Regions from separate parts of the Homo sapiens genome. Here region 2 is linked to region 1. Evidence: promoter capture Hi-C in 16 types of primary human blood cells and fetal thymus (Javierre and others, 2016). All regions are on one chromosome and are shown on one strand. The core of a region is centred on a gene start or on the middle of the fragment in contact, and the rest is flanking DNA. Distances in the headings are between cores, read along the strand shown.

Region 1 (6,242 bases), core at 990-3,489:
GCGGTGGGCACACCCGTAATCCCAGCTACTCGGGAAGCTGAGGCAGGAGAATCACTTGAACCCGGCGGGCAGAGGTTGCAGTGAGCCGAGAAAGCGCCACAGCACTCCAGCCTGGGCGACAGAGCGAGACTCCATTTCAAAACAAAACCAAACAAAAAACACGAACTGGCTCTTATCTTGAATGAGTTATTTTTTCTGAGCCTTTATTTCTTCGTTTGTTCAAATAGCGACCATTAAACTTTGTGTTTAGTATCTGACAAACGGCCGGGCTCGGTGGTTCATGCCTGTAATCCCAGCACTTTGGTAGGCCAATGCGGGCCGATCAAGAGGTCAGGAGTTCGATACCAGCCTGGCCAACATAGTGAAACCCGTCTCTACTAAAAATACAAAAATTAGCCAGGCGTGGTGGGGCGCACCTGTAGTCCCAGCTACTTGGGAGGCTGAGGCAGGATAATCTCTTGATCCAGAGACAGAGGTTGTGGTGAGCCAAGAACGCGCCACTGCACTCTAGCCTGGACAAAAGAGCAAGACTCTGTCTCAAAATACATATATATGTATCTGGCAAACAGCAAAAGCAAGCTTTTCAAAATGTCGCCAGCTGCCCGGATAAAAAGCCCTAAACAGACCGGGCGCGGTGGCTAGCGCCTGTAATCCCAGCACTTTGAGGCCGAGGCGGGTGGATCACCTGAGGTCGGGAATTCCGAGACTAGCCTGACCAACATGGAGAAACCCCGTCTCTACTAAAAATACAAAATTGGCGGGGTGTGGGGGCGCATTCCTGTAATCCCGACTACTCGGGAGGCTGAAGCTGGGGAATCGCTTGAAGCCGGGACGCGGAGATTGCGGTGAGCTGAGATCGCGCCATTGCACTCCAGCCTGGACTTGAGCGAAACTCTCTCTCAAAAAGGAAAAAAAAAAAAAAGCACTTAACTGCCCATAAAGTGAGGACAACTCCCGACAGGCTTCCCCGGAGTCACTCACGTCCACACATCTTTGTCCAGCGCCCGATTAAGGCCTCTAAAAGCCCAGTGGTGCCCCATAAAAATTACACTATTTCATAAAATAAAATATTTTCCACTCGACACGAATTTCCACATACGTCAAAATATTCTATCTTCGTCTCGGTGCACGTGCAGCCTACCTACCGAAGGACCCAGCCGGATCCCAGCACTTCGGCTCCCCACGGCCCCGCCCCGCCCAATTAGGCCCCGCGGTCCCCATGGTGACACACCCCCCCGCGCTCGCAGCTCGTGGCCCACCCCCTCGGCGGCCCCTCACCTAGGCCGAAGGCCCACCGTCCCCAAGGCGTCTCGGCGACCGCGGCTCTTAACTACCTCTAAGTGTCTACCTCGATCGACTACTGGAGCCCCAACTCACTATCTCCGCGCCGGCCGAGGAACCTCCTTTCGCACCCCACACCACCGGACTCTCCCCGTTCGGCCTCCCGCAGGCATTCCTCCTTCCCGCCACCCCGCCCCCCGCCCCGCCCACCAAGTGGGCCGGGCGCCTTCCCCTTCTCGCCCCACCCCCAGTGCTCCCACCTCCCAGGCCCCCTCCCCACCCGGAGCTGCGCGCGTCGCCCCTTCCTTAGCCCAGCACCCCCACCTGGCGGGACGCGTCTCCTCCCTCCAAAAGGCCCGAACTCTCCGCGTCTCCCCTGCAGCCCTCTTCCTGCACAGCCTCTCTCCTCCGACCCTGTTTACAAGCTACACCCCCAAATGCTCCAGACTCGACCCCTGCACTCATTCAAGCCAACTCTGCGGCCCCGCCTCCTCCGAGCCCAGGGCCAGGCCGTGCACCCCCCCAACCCCCTGTGCGAGCCTCCCCTCGCCGGGTTCCAAGCGCCCCGCCGCTATGCCCCCGCCTTCGACCCCACCCCCACCCCGCTACCTGGTGGGGGCAGCAGGCGCTACCGATCTCCGCAGCCCTCCGTTGAGGTTCTTCGCCTTGGGCGGTGACGCGGAGCGCGCCAAGGGCCTGGGCCCAGGCCCAGCCTCGCTCCAGGCCGCATCCCCGCCTGGGGAAGGAGAGGCCCCGGGGGCAGCGGCGGCACGGCCGCCTTCGCGTGAGGCCCTGGCCGAGGCCTTGTTGGCATCACTCAGCGCCGGAGACTTGGGGAAGAAGCTGTACAGGGTGCTCTGTCGCGACATACCGACAGCCGGCAAGGCCCAACCGTTCTGTCGGACGGAGCTCCTAAAAGCACCGCATCTACCGCGCGGCTCCTGCTGGCGGGAAATCTGGGGGGAGGCGCGCTCCGCCGGAGGAACCCGGGCCCCAGTGGCCAATCAACAGGCGCCTCGCCGTGCGCGGGCGGTGCGCGCCAGGCCCCGCCCCCGGGCGCGCGGCGACGTGGGGAAGGGCGGGGCTGGCACACTGGTGGGTAGGGGCGGGGCTGGCACGCTGGCGGTGAGGGGCCCGCCCTGCCGCCGACGCCTGGGCCCCGCGCGGGGAACTGCTGAGCTCCCCTTCCCTCACGCCGCGGGGCTGGCCGGGCCGGAACACTCCGACCCGGGGTTAGTTGCGGCCGCGGGGCTAGCAGGCTCGGAAAGCCCTGCCTCTCTGGAGCGGAAGCGGGAACAGCGGGGGCGCGCACCGCCCGGGCGGGGATAACCGGGGGGACCCGAAAGGCCTCGGAAAGGGGCTCGCGGGGAGAAACGCGTCCAGCGCTCGCGTGACCTCCTGCCGTTAGAGCATTTTCGCAAGGAGACGGAGCGAAAGGGACCAAACTTTAGTCAGCAGTTCACCTTCACGTTGTATTCTCAAGATTTGTATAGAGTAGGCACTTGGTAAACGCTAAATGAATATTGTAATAGCATTCGTTAGCGATGCTGTTGTGTATGGTGAAAGCCTGCAGCTGTACAAAGTTTTCCTTTGCCAGGCACTGATCCCAGCATTTTACATCTGGTAACTAAATCGATCCTCTCAATAACCTGTGACGTAAGTACTTAAGGGCCACAGTCCGTTATCTGAGCCCTTTGACCCAGGTGTGTCTTTACAGGATTTTTCAAATTTTAGAAAGCTAAGAGACTATGAGAGGCCGGGCGCAGTGGCTCACGCCTGTAATCCCAGCACTTTGGGATGCCGAGGCGGGCGGATCACCTGAGGTCAGGCGTTGAAGACCAGCCTAGTCAACATGGTGAAACCCCCGTCTCTACTAAAAATCCAAAAATTAGCCGGGCGTGGTGGCATGCGCCTGTAATCCCAGCTACTTGGGAGGCTGAGGCAGGAGAATAACTTGAACCTGGGAGGCAGCGTTTGCAGTGAGCCAAGGTCGCGCCACTGCACTCCAGCCTGGGCGACAAGAGCGAAACTCCGTCTCAAAAAAAAAAGAAAGAAAGCTAAGAGGCTATGAGAATAAAAAGGTTCTATTCAAATTCAAGAAAGATAGTGGAAGACAGACAATTGTTTGTCCCCTTATCCAGATTGTGAAATCCAGATTGCCGGAAACCAGTCACAATCAACAGCTGTACATTGGTAAAAACCTATGTAAAATTAGTTGTTTGCCTTGTTCTTGGAGACTGTTCTGCCAGAAGGTTCTCCTTTGCTAGGCAAGTAATAAAATCAATCTAAAAAAAAAAGGCGGGGGCCGGGCGCAGTGGCTCACGCCTGTAGTCCCAGCACTCGGCACTTCGGGGGGGGGGCGGAGGTGGGCGGATCACGAGGTCAGGAGATCGAGACCATCCTGGCTAACACAGTGAAACCCCGCCTCTACTAAAAATACAAAAAATTAGCCTGGCGTGGTAGCACACGCCTGTAGTCCCAGCTACTGGGGAGGCTGAGGTAGGAGAATGGTGTGAACCCGGGAGGCGGAGCTTGCAGTGAGCCGAGATCGCGCCTCTGCACTCCAGCCTGGGCGACAGAGCAAGACTCCCTCTCAAAAAAAAAAAAAGAATATTGCCAAAGGTGGTATGTGCTAAGAAAAATACAGTATGCTTCACGAATTTGCATTTCATCCCTGTGCAGGGGTCATTCCAATTTTGGTATATGTGCTACCCAAGCAAGCACAGTGAAACCAACTGTTTGAGATAATATTTGAGAGTTGGTCTCTTTCCCCCACCGGCATACGTAAACACCCCCAGAGAGTCTGGGGGAACATGCTGAAATCAAACATGCAGTAAAACTTACATGCTTATTCATACTAAGTAGAAAGAATACAGAATATAGACTATAAATAGCCTCAGGTCAAAATTTGCTACCAAATGAGTTTACCCCCAAACTTTTGGTTTACAGAGCTTTTTGGATTTCAGAATTGCACGTAAGAGGCTGGTTATCCTGTATCTCCATATCATGGATGAAGCTGAGGCACAGTTGGGTCAAGTAACTTGCCCATGACTGCATAGCTAGGAAGTGGTGGAGCCTGGATTTAAACTCAAGGAAGCTGGTTCTGGAGCCCTATGTTGTTAACAGAAATACTATAATACTTCCAATTTAACACCATTTTATCTCATTTAGTTATTACAACCACCTTATACTAGGTTGAACTATGTGAAATTGCCAAAATTTGCCCTTTTTAAAATTTTTTTGAGACAGGGTCTGGCTCTGTCACAGAGGCTGGAGTATAGTGGCGTGATCTTGGCTTACTGTAGCCTCAACCTCCCAGGCTTAAGTAATCCTCTCACCTCAGCCTCCTGAGTACCTGGGACCACAGGCCCGCAACACCATGCCCAGCTAATTTTTTTTTTTTTTAATTGAGGAGTCTTATTCTGTCACCCAGGCTGGAGTACAGTGACGCCATCTTGGTTCACTGCAACCCCTGCTTTGCGGGTTCAGGCAATTCTCATGCCTCAGCCTCCTGAGTGCTAGGATTACTGGTGCCTACCACCATGCCCAGCTAATTTTTGTTTTTTAGTAGAGACACGGTTTCACCATGTTGGCCTGCCTGATCCCAAACTCCTGACCACAAGTGACCCGCCTGCCTCAGCCTCCCAAAGTGCTGGGATTACAGGTATGAGCCACTGTGCCCGGTGCCCTGCTAGTATTTTAAAAATTTTCTGTAGAGACGAAGTTTCACTATGTTGCCCAAGCTGGACCTTTTTGGTTTTTTGGTTGTTTTGTTTTGAGACAGGGTCTTACTCTGTCTCCCAGACTGGTGTGCAGTAGTGCAGTCTCAGCTCACCACAACTTTCACCTCCCAAGCTCAAGCAATTCTCCTTCCTCAGCCTCCTGAATAGCTGGGATTACCGGCACGCGCTACTACTGCCCAGCTAATTTTTGTATTTTTAGTAGAGACAGGATTTCACCATGTTGGCCAGGCTGGTCTCAAACTCCTGACCTCAAATGATCCTCCTGCCTCGGCCTCCCAAAATGTTGGGATTACAGGCGGGAGCCACTGCGCCCAGCCAAGCTGGACCGTTTTTGAAGTACAAATATTAATATTTAATTCATTTTGGTTCAACTGAATATAACGTTATTCTCTTTTTGTTGTTGTTGTTTGTTTTTTTGGGGATGGAGTCTTGCTCTGTCACCGAGGCTGGAGTGCAATGGCACGATCTTGGCTCACCACAACCTCCGCCTCCCAGGTTAAGGCAATTCTCCTGCCTCAGTCTCCTGAGTAGCTGGGGTTACAGGCACCAACACACCCAGCTAAGTTTTGTATTTTTAGTAGAGATGGGGTTTCACCATGTTGGCCAGGCTGGTCTCAAACTCCTGACCTCGTGATCCGCCCATCTCTGCCTCCCAAAGTGCTGGGATTATAGATGTGAGCCACTGCGCCCGGCCGATGTTATTCTTTTACAGGGAGGAAATGGAGGTTCAGAGGGGATGCGCCAGTTGTAAGAGGTTAAGAGCCTGGGCTTTGGGTTAAATGGAGAACTGAGCTCTGATCCTAGCTAGCCAAGCAGATAACTCGGAGCAATTAATACTTTTCTGAACTTGTTTCCTCGTCTTTGATAAGGACAGTAGTACCTATGGGCCAAATTTTGGAGGCTACAGTTAGATGCCTCCCACAAACTTCATTAAAAGACAAGAGAACACATGTATTATGTGGGGACACTCAGACCCCCAGAATTGGCATGAATGTTACTTGGAACTGAAGACATTTGAGAGCCAACAGATGCAGAAAGATGCCGTTTCAAAGCTTCCCTTATGCGACTAACAGCAGAAATTTCTGGGAGTGAAGCTGCCGTAAATCTCCTCTCTAGGGGAGTTTTAGTGGCCAGAAAAAAAGACAAAGACCACTTGCACCTGCAAAAACAAACATTCTTATCTCCCTTTTGTTCCCCCAGAAACCTATTTGTTCTTCC
Region 2 (6,242 bases), core at 2,754-5,253, 1.5 Mb after region 1:
AGAGACGGGGTTTCACCATGTTGACCAGGCTGGTCTTGAACTCCTGACCTCAGGTGATCCGCAGCCTCAGCCTCCCAAAGTGCTGGGATTACAGGCATGAGCCACCGCGACCAGCCCTGACTCTTATCAGCACTAATTTTCCTTGTGACCGGAGAAGTCTTTTAACCTCTCTCGGCATCAGTTTCCTTATCCAGAAAGAGAAAAGTCTGACTAGATGATTTCCATGGTCTCTTATAAAATAATTCTAGGCTCCCTATAAGCACCACTGAAAAAAACTTGAAATGATGGCATTCTTTTGAACTTCATGAAAACTGTATGAATTAAAACTTAAATACTCAAGCCAACAATGTGTTACATCAATTCTGTATCATCCTGCGCTGCTGGTAATACAATGGAAACATATCAAGTGTGGAGGGAATATTTATTTAAAATATATGTTTAAATTGAGAGAAACTGTCCAGCAATATTTTTTCCCTTCAGAGTTGGAATAATGATGGAGTTTGATTTGATTTTAGAAGAGGAACAACTAAGTCCAGCTGTCAGAAGGAGGGGGAGATTGGAGATCCAGGTGTCTCCAATTCCCCTTCCACGCTAGCCCTGTACTGAGCACTACTGTATAAGCACTCTGGGAAGGTGTCTGGACCTAGGTCTGGCTTTGGGACTGGACTTTGATCCCTGATTATCCAAGGATCTCATTTACATTTGCCTGAACCACTCCTCAAACCCCGTGAATCCCAGAATTTCCACATTTTTTTCCCAGTGAAAGGACTCAGGCATTCCTGATAGATGCGTGCACAAAAAGGTGAGTGAAAGTGCAGTACCCCCACCCACCAGGCTTCAGTTTCTGACATCTGTGATGTCACCGCAAATGCCCACTACCACCAAAACTGGTACTATCAAGGACACCCAGCCAACTAACATTTAGAAAGCAAACTCTTTATTATTAAACATTAACATATTTATCGACGTGTGAACATTCTGGGACAAAATCATCTGCCCACTTCTTGACGGGCCATTGTTAGAACGAATATTCCAAATGTTCTGCCCATATTGCATTTGGGGGAAGAAACTGCTCTGCTAAACCAAAGAAACACAAAATGTAAGAACTAGTGGGCAGAATCATCAGCAGAGAGCCCCCTCACTGTCACATCGCCCTTGTGAGGCACTCAGAAAAGCTACAGCAGTCACTTACATGACAACACCAACTTTCAATGTATTGGTTCACATATTTTAATTACATCTTGGTCCCTAAAGAAGCCTGCAGCCAGCAAACAGACCCAGGCACGAAAAGTAAATGAGTCTCAAACTGATTAGCCCAATAGGAATTGGACAACCCCTTAAGGGGCTCTAGATGGTGAAGGACACGCTGTTTGCCCTGCCATTCTGCAGCACAAAAATCCAGGCAGGTCGAAGAGGGCGGACACCCTCGCGTGGCCACCAGCCCGGAGCCGCAGCTCACACAGCGGCCTCCAAGGCGTTTCGCAGGCAGTCCCCACAGTGGTTCTTAAAGCGGCCGCTCTCGCCAATAATTGGGAGTCTAATTACGCAACGTTCTTCCCGCTCCCATTCCCGCTTCTTCTCTCTTTCCAACAGTCCGCTAACGAACCAGGTACTGTAGCTGGGTGTGTCGAAATCATTTTTCCCCTGCTCCCAAGTTTCTCGGTATATACGGTACAAAACTGCACAAAACCCGGCGCTAAGGAGCGCAGGAGGAGCTGACACTTCACACATTTGTCAAGATTACTGTCAGGCCCCACCTCGGCGATTGCCACATTCCCGATAGGCATCGCAGTTGTAAAATACACAAGTTCCCTCCCCGGCTCCGGACCCGAAAGCGTCTGCAGGCGCTGTCTATAACTTTGCTTTTCGATGGTTCAGTCATTATTAGCATTATGATTGGTTTTTACAAAACGCACTGGAATCTTAAGAGTCTTTTCCTTGCTCTGCTGCCTTCAAAAGACATGGAACCCCAGGACTGCTCCGAGGGCCCTGGGAATGTGCCGGCTGCAGTCTCAGGGCTCCCTCACTTGTCTTGGGTCTGAGGGCGCGACGGTGACGAGAAAGGGGGGACTACGGCCAGGAAAGGGGAGCAGGGCCCAATCCCCTCCCCTAGCGATCCCGCAGTGAAGGGCCCGGGCGCCGAGCCAGGACAGGCGCGATTCGCTCCCGTTTATCAAATCCTTATCGGTGCCCCGAGGTGGGAACCGCTGCTTTCGACCGGAGGATACACGGTTTCTGGCTCCAGTCCCGTAGTGGAAGTTGGAACAAGAGCAAATCAACCTCGGCAGTGAGCCCTCCCGGCCAGTCACCTCCCTCCCTTAGCGAGTCGGTCCTCCTCATCCTCGCACCTCTATACCGCCGCTCCGCCGCTGGTTTCCCGCGGCTCAGGCGGTTCAGCCGGCCGCGCGTTGGATTCCAGCTTCCCGCAGCATAGCCTCGCCAAGCCGCGGCCAAGCGCGGGGCTGGAAGCTCCAGGCCACTGGGGCCGCACGGGTGGAGACAGGAGGAGAAAGGGGACAGGCGGCGAGCCGCACACATTTGCAGAAGTTGAGGCCCTGCCTGCTTCTGCGCGGCCGCGCAGAGGGCTCGAACCCTCGCTCGGGTAGCGCCGGGCCCGGCTGGACTGGGAGCGGCCGGGAGAGGGCGAGAGGGCAGCAAGAAATGGCCAGAGTTGCCTCTCACCCAGTGCCGAGAGGCTCGCGAGGGCAGGCGGGCAGATCGTGGCTGCCCTTCTCTGTCCTCTTCGGAGACAGACACCCGGACCTGCCAGGGACATCCAGTGTTGCCGTCCGCTTCCTACACACCGAACCATCTGCCCCCGCAGGGCAATCCAGGTCACTCACTACCTACTCTCCCCAGAGTCAAGGTGCGGCACGAGGAAGTGGGTTCTCCAACCTTCGGTGGGGTCTGGAGCCCGGCAGCGGGGCGCTCTGAAGGGTCCTGGCTCCTCGGTAGGATCGTGTCCCTGAGCCGCTCTCCGCCTCCCGCCCCCCTTTGCCCACTTGGGCCGCGGCGCGGGCACAGGAGCGCATTTGGAAGGACTCCGCGAATCCAGAGAAAAATAGAGACGTGGATGCTGCCCCAAAATGAGAGACCAGAGAAAGTCGAGGACATGCACCCACAAACATTTCCAAGCGCCGGTGGCCACGGTAATCTGCTGCGGGGCGGCTGGGAGATTTTCAAAGGCACCGCGGAAGCACCTCCGACCTCCAGGCCATCTCCCTCGGCCTCCTGGCCTCGCCGTGCGCGCAAATCCCCGACTCCTCCGAGCCGCAGAAGTCTCCACTGCAAAGCTGCTGATCCGCGCCCCCAAACCGGGCACATGCTCTCCCCCTCACAGCCCTCCAAACCGAGCCTCGAGCTCCGAAGACCTCTCAGCACTCTTCTCCCAACCACTCTCGGTCGCGCCTGCCCCGCGCAGCCCGGCCCTGGCCTCGGACCGGCCCCCTGATCGGCCCGGACGCCCGCTTACCTTTTCTTCTCCTTGTCAGCTGTCATTGTCGCTGTGGCCCTTTGAGACGTTCAGACGCCGAGCACCTGGGCTCCCTGGCGGGTGGGGGGCTGTGGCCCTCGTCCGCTCCCCGCGGCCCGGGCGGGTGGTGAAGGTCCGAGGTGCGCGCAGGTCCCGAGCGCCCCGCGCAGTCAGGTGGAAGGTGGCGCGCGGCGGGCTAGGTGCGGGGGCGGGGGTGGAGAAAGGTGACTGGGAGGAACCTGCGCGCGGAGGCGGGGTCCGGGGAAGGAGTGGGTGGAGGCTGTCAGACCCGAAAAGAGGACGGAGAGAAGGGAACCCAAGTTCCTTTTTCCCTGGAAAAGGAGTCACTTTTCTGAGTTTTCAAAGAAAAAAAAAAGTGGCTCGAATGCTGGGAGTCGGAAGGAGTCGGAGGCCGGGCTGAGCTGACCATACAGTCTCAGGACACTGCCGAGGATTGTACGGCCGCCTCAGGAGCGCTGGGGCGGAAGCGCAGCGGGCACCGGACCCGTGTGGCGGTCCGCTCGCGAGTGTAAAGCTCCCGCGGCCGGCAGCCCACTTTAAAAACTCCGTCGGCCGGCTTGGGGCGGGCACGGGGCGGGCGCGGAGGGCGGGGGGCGGGCACCGGCGCGGGTGTGTGGGCGGGCACGCGCCGGCAGGCCCCGCCCGCGCCGAGCTCCGGGCGGCTCACTGCGTCCCGGCCAATGGGGACGCGCGGCCGCAGCCTCTGCCCTGACCCTGGCCCGCCTCCTGCCCCCGCGCTGCGCCCCGCCTCCTGCCTCCGCACTTCGAGGACTTGTTTATGAGGTCGTCTGGGCGGCGGGTAGCGGGGTGGGACTCCGCGTCGGGGAGAGGCAGCCTGCGCAGGGCCGAGGGGCGGCCGGGAGCCGGGCTCCGGGATTGCTGCGGGGGACGGCAGTTGCGCCACAGCGTCGGTGTCCTCGTACCGGCGCCGTGCCCTTGGAACGAGGGCAGGACCGCGGGCAGCGCCGGGCCAGCGCGGAGCCCCTCCACGCTGCTGCGCTCCTGCGTCCCTGGCCCTCGGGCCAGGTGGGGATAATTTCTCGGCCCCCAGCGGCTGCGTTTCGGGCGTGGGCGATGCGCCCTTTTCGGTGGGACGCAGCTGACTTGACCGTCTGGGAGAAGCAGTGCAAGGAAATTGATCTAGGGCTGCGCCTACTCTTCCTTCCCTCTCCCAGCAGGGTGGTTGCTTACCGGCTTGTGCCAGGCGGTTTGGTTTTGGCGGGGATGCGGCAGAGGAGGCCCTTTGAGCCGCCCGAGGCCGGGGCGAGTTCAGAATTGGAGAAGTCAGTCTGGTTCCCCAGTGTGATCTTGGAGTGACAAGAGTTGGCCATGTGCCCTCAAGTCACTGCATCTCAGGCCTGCCCTCTCTGCCGCCAGGGTCGATGGAAGTCCTGGGAAACCCAAAGGCTACAGGTGTTGGAAATTTGTAGATTTAAGGGCTCACACAGGCAACGGTTAGCGCTCAGGGATTTTCCAGCGGCGCTTTTGACGCTGCCTTCCATCTCCGGGCCCAGTGCTCCCCTGCCCCGCGCTGAGCTGTCTCCCACTCGCTACCGGCGATGGGGAAGGGACATCTGGGGAGAGGACAGGGGACGCCCTTAGTTTTTGAAGGCTGTGGAAGGACCCATGAGTTTCACAGGTGTAACTTGAAGTTGGAAAGCGAGGGCCAAAGAACTGGTCTATATCTCTCCCTTTAGCCTCTTGCCACATTTTATACTAGAACGATCTACAGAAGCGATTTGAAGAGAAGGGTAGGTTTCAGCGCCATAATAAAAATGAACACGTGTTTTCCCCGTGTACACAGAAAGGGTTGGGGGAGATACTTTTCAGGAGCCTGGAGAAGGCGAAGTGGGGAGAGGGCAAAAACTGACGAAGAATTGGGAAATACTTTTTTTTTTTTTTTGAGACTGAGTCCCACTCTGTCGCCCAGGCTGGAGTGCTGTGGCCCCATCTCGACTCACTGCAACCTCCGCTTCCCGCGATTCTTGTGGCTCAGCCTCCGGAGTAACTGGAATTAAAGGCGCCCACCACCACCCTCAGCTAATTTTTGTATTTTTAGTAGAGACGGGAGTTTTACCATGTTGGCCAGGCTGGTCTCAAACTCCTGACCTCAAGTGATCTGCCCAACTTGGCCTCTCAAAGTATTGGGATTACAGGCGTGAGTCACTGTGCCCGGCCGGGAAGTAGACGTATTTTGTCATTTTCTCAGATCTCGGGGCACGGAGCACCTATACAGGTTGATAGTCAACGAATTCAAAGATTGCAAATCTCTCTCTAGCGAACTATTTCATGGGGCTGGTGGGTTTCAGGAACGGGGTGATTTGGTACTGGGCTTCTCCAGCCAGCCATTTCTAGTGGACACATTTATGTATTTTAATGAGTTCAAATTGGTAGATAGTTCTCCCTTAACCATAGGCTTATTTCCCTCACTTGGGACTAGAGTGCGGGAAAAGGGCACCTTGGTGGCTTCCAGGTGCCTACAGTAGTTCACCACAACAGCCTCTGAGTCCTGGACTGTGCTTGACAGATCGAGGCAACACCTCCAACCCATAGAGAACATAGCCTTTTAGATCTTGTTTTTAAAGAGGAAAGGCAAGGAGGGGTCACTCAAGACCACATCAACCTAAGAAGACATGGACACATGGGAGGAACAGCACAGACTGGGGCGTGTCAGAGGGTGAGGGGTGGGAGGAGGGAGAGCATCAGGAACAATAGCTAACGGATGCTGGGCTTAATACCTAGGTGATGG

What was found. Contacts are between HindIII fragments. The CHiCAGO score rates a contact against its expected background, and 5 or more counts as called.
Region 2: the fragment with the promoter of EPAS1 here is called in contact with the fragment with the promoter of MSH6 in region 1 in 1 of 17 cell types (neutrophils); the score reaches 6.7 in neutrophils.

Annotation. Positions count from the first base shown.
Region 1 is chr2:47,779,142-47,785,383 of GRCh38, reverse strand. MSH6 (mutS homolog 6) reads right to left here and starts at 2,239. Exons shown (of 10, transcript NM_000179.3): 1 at 1,891-2,239. The coding sequence starts at 2,150. RefSeq lists silencers at 1,457-1,546, 1,747-1,906, 2,187-2,666, 3,817-3,998 and an enhancer at 2,797-2,866. The HindIII fragment of the contact is 5,497 bases long and covers 582-6,078 here.
Region 2 is chr2:46,295,168-46,301,409 of GRCh38, reverse strand. It overlaps EPAS1 (endothelial PAS domain protein 1), which reads right to left and starts at 4,003. Exons shown (of 16, transcript NM_001430.5): 1 at 3,473-4,003. The coding sequence starts at 3,498. RefSeq lists silencers at 3,410-3,739, 3,970-4,549. The HindIII fragment of the contact is 15,577 bases long and covers 1-6,242 here.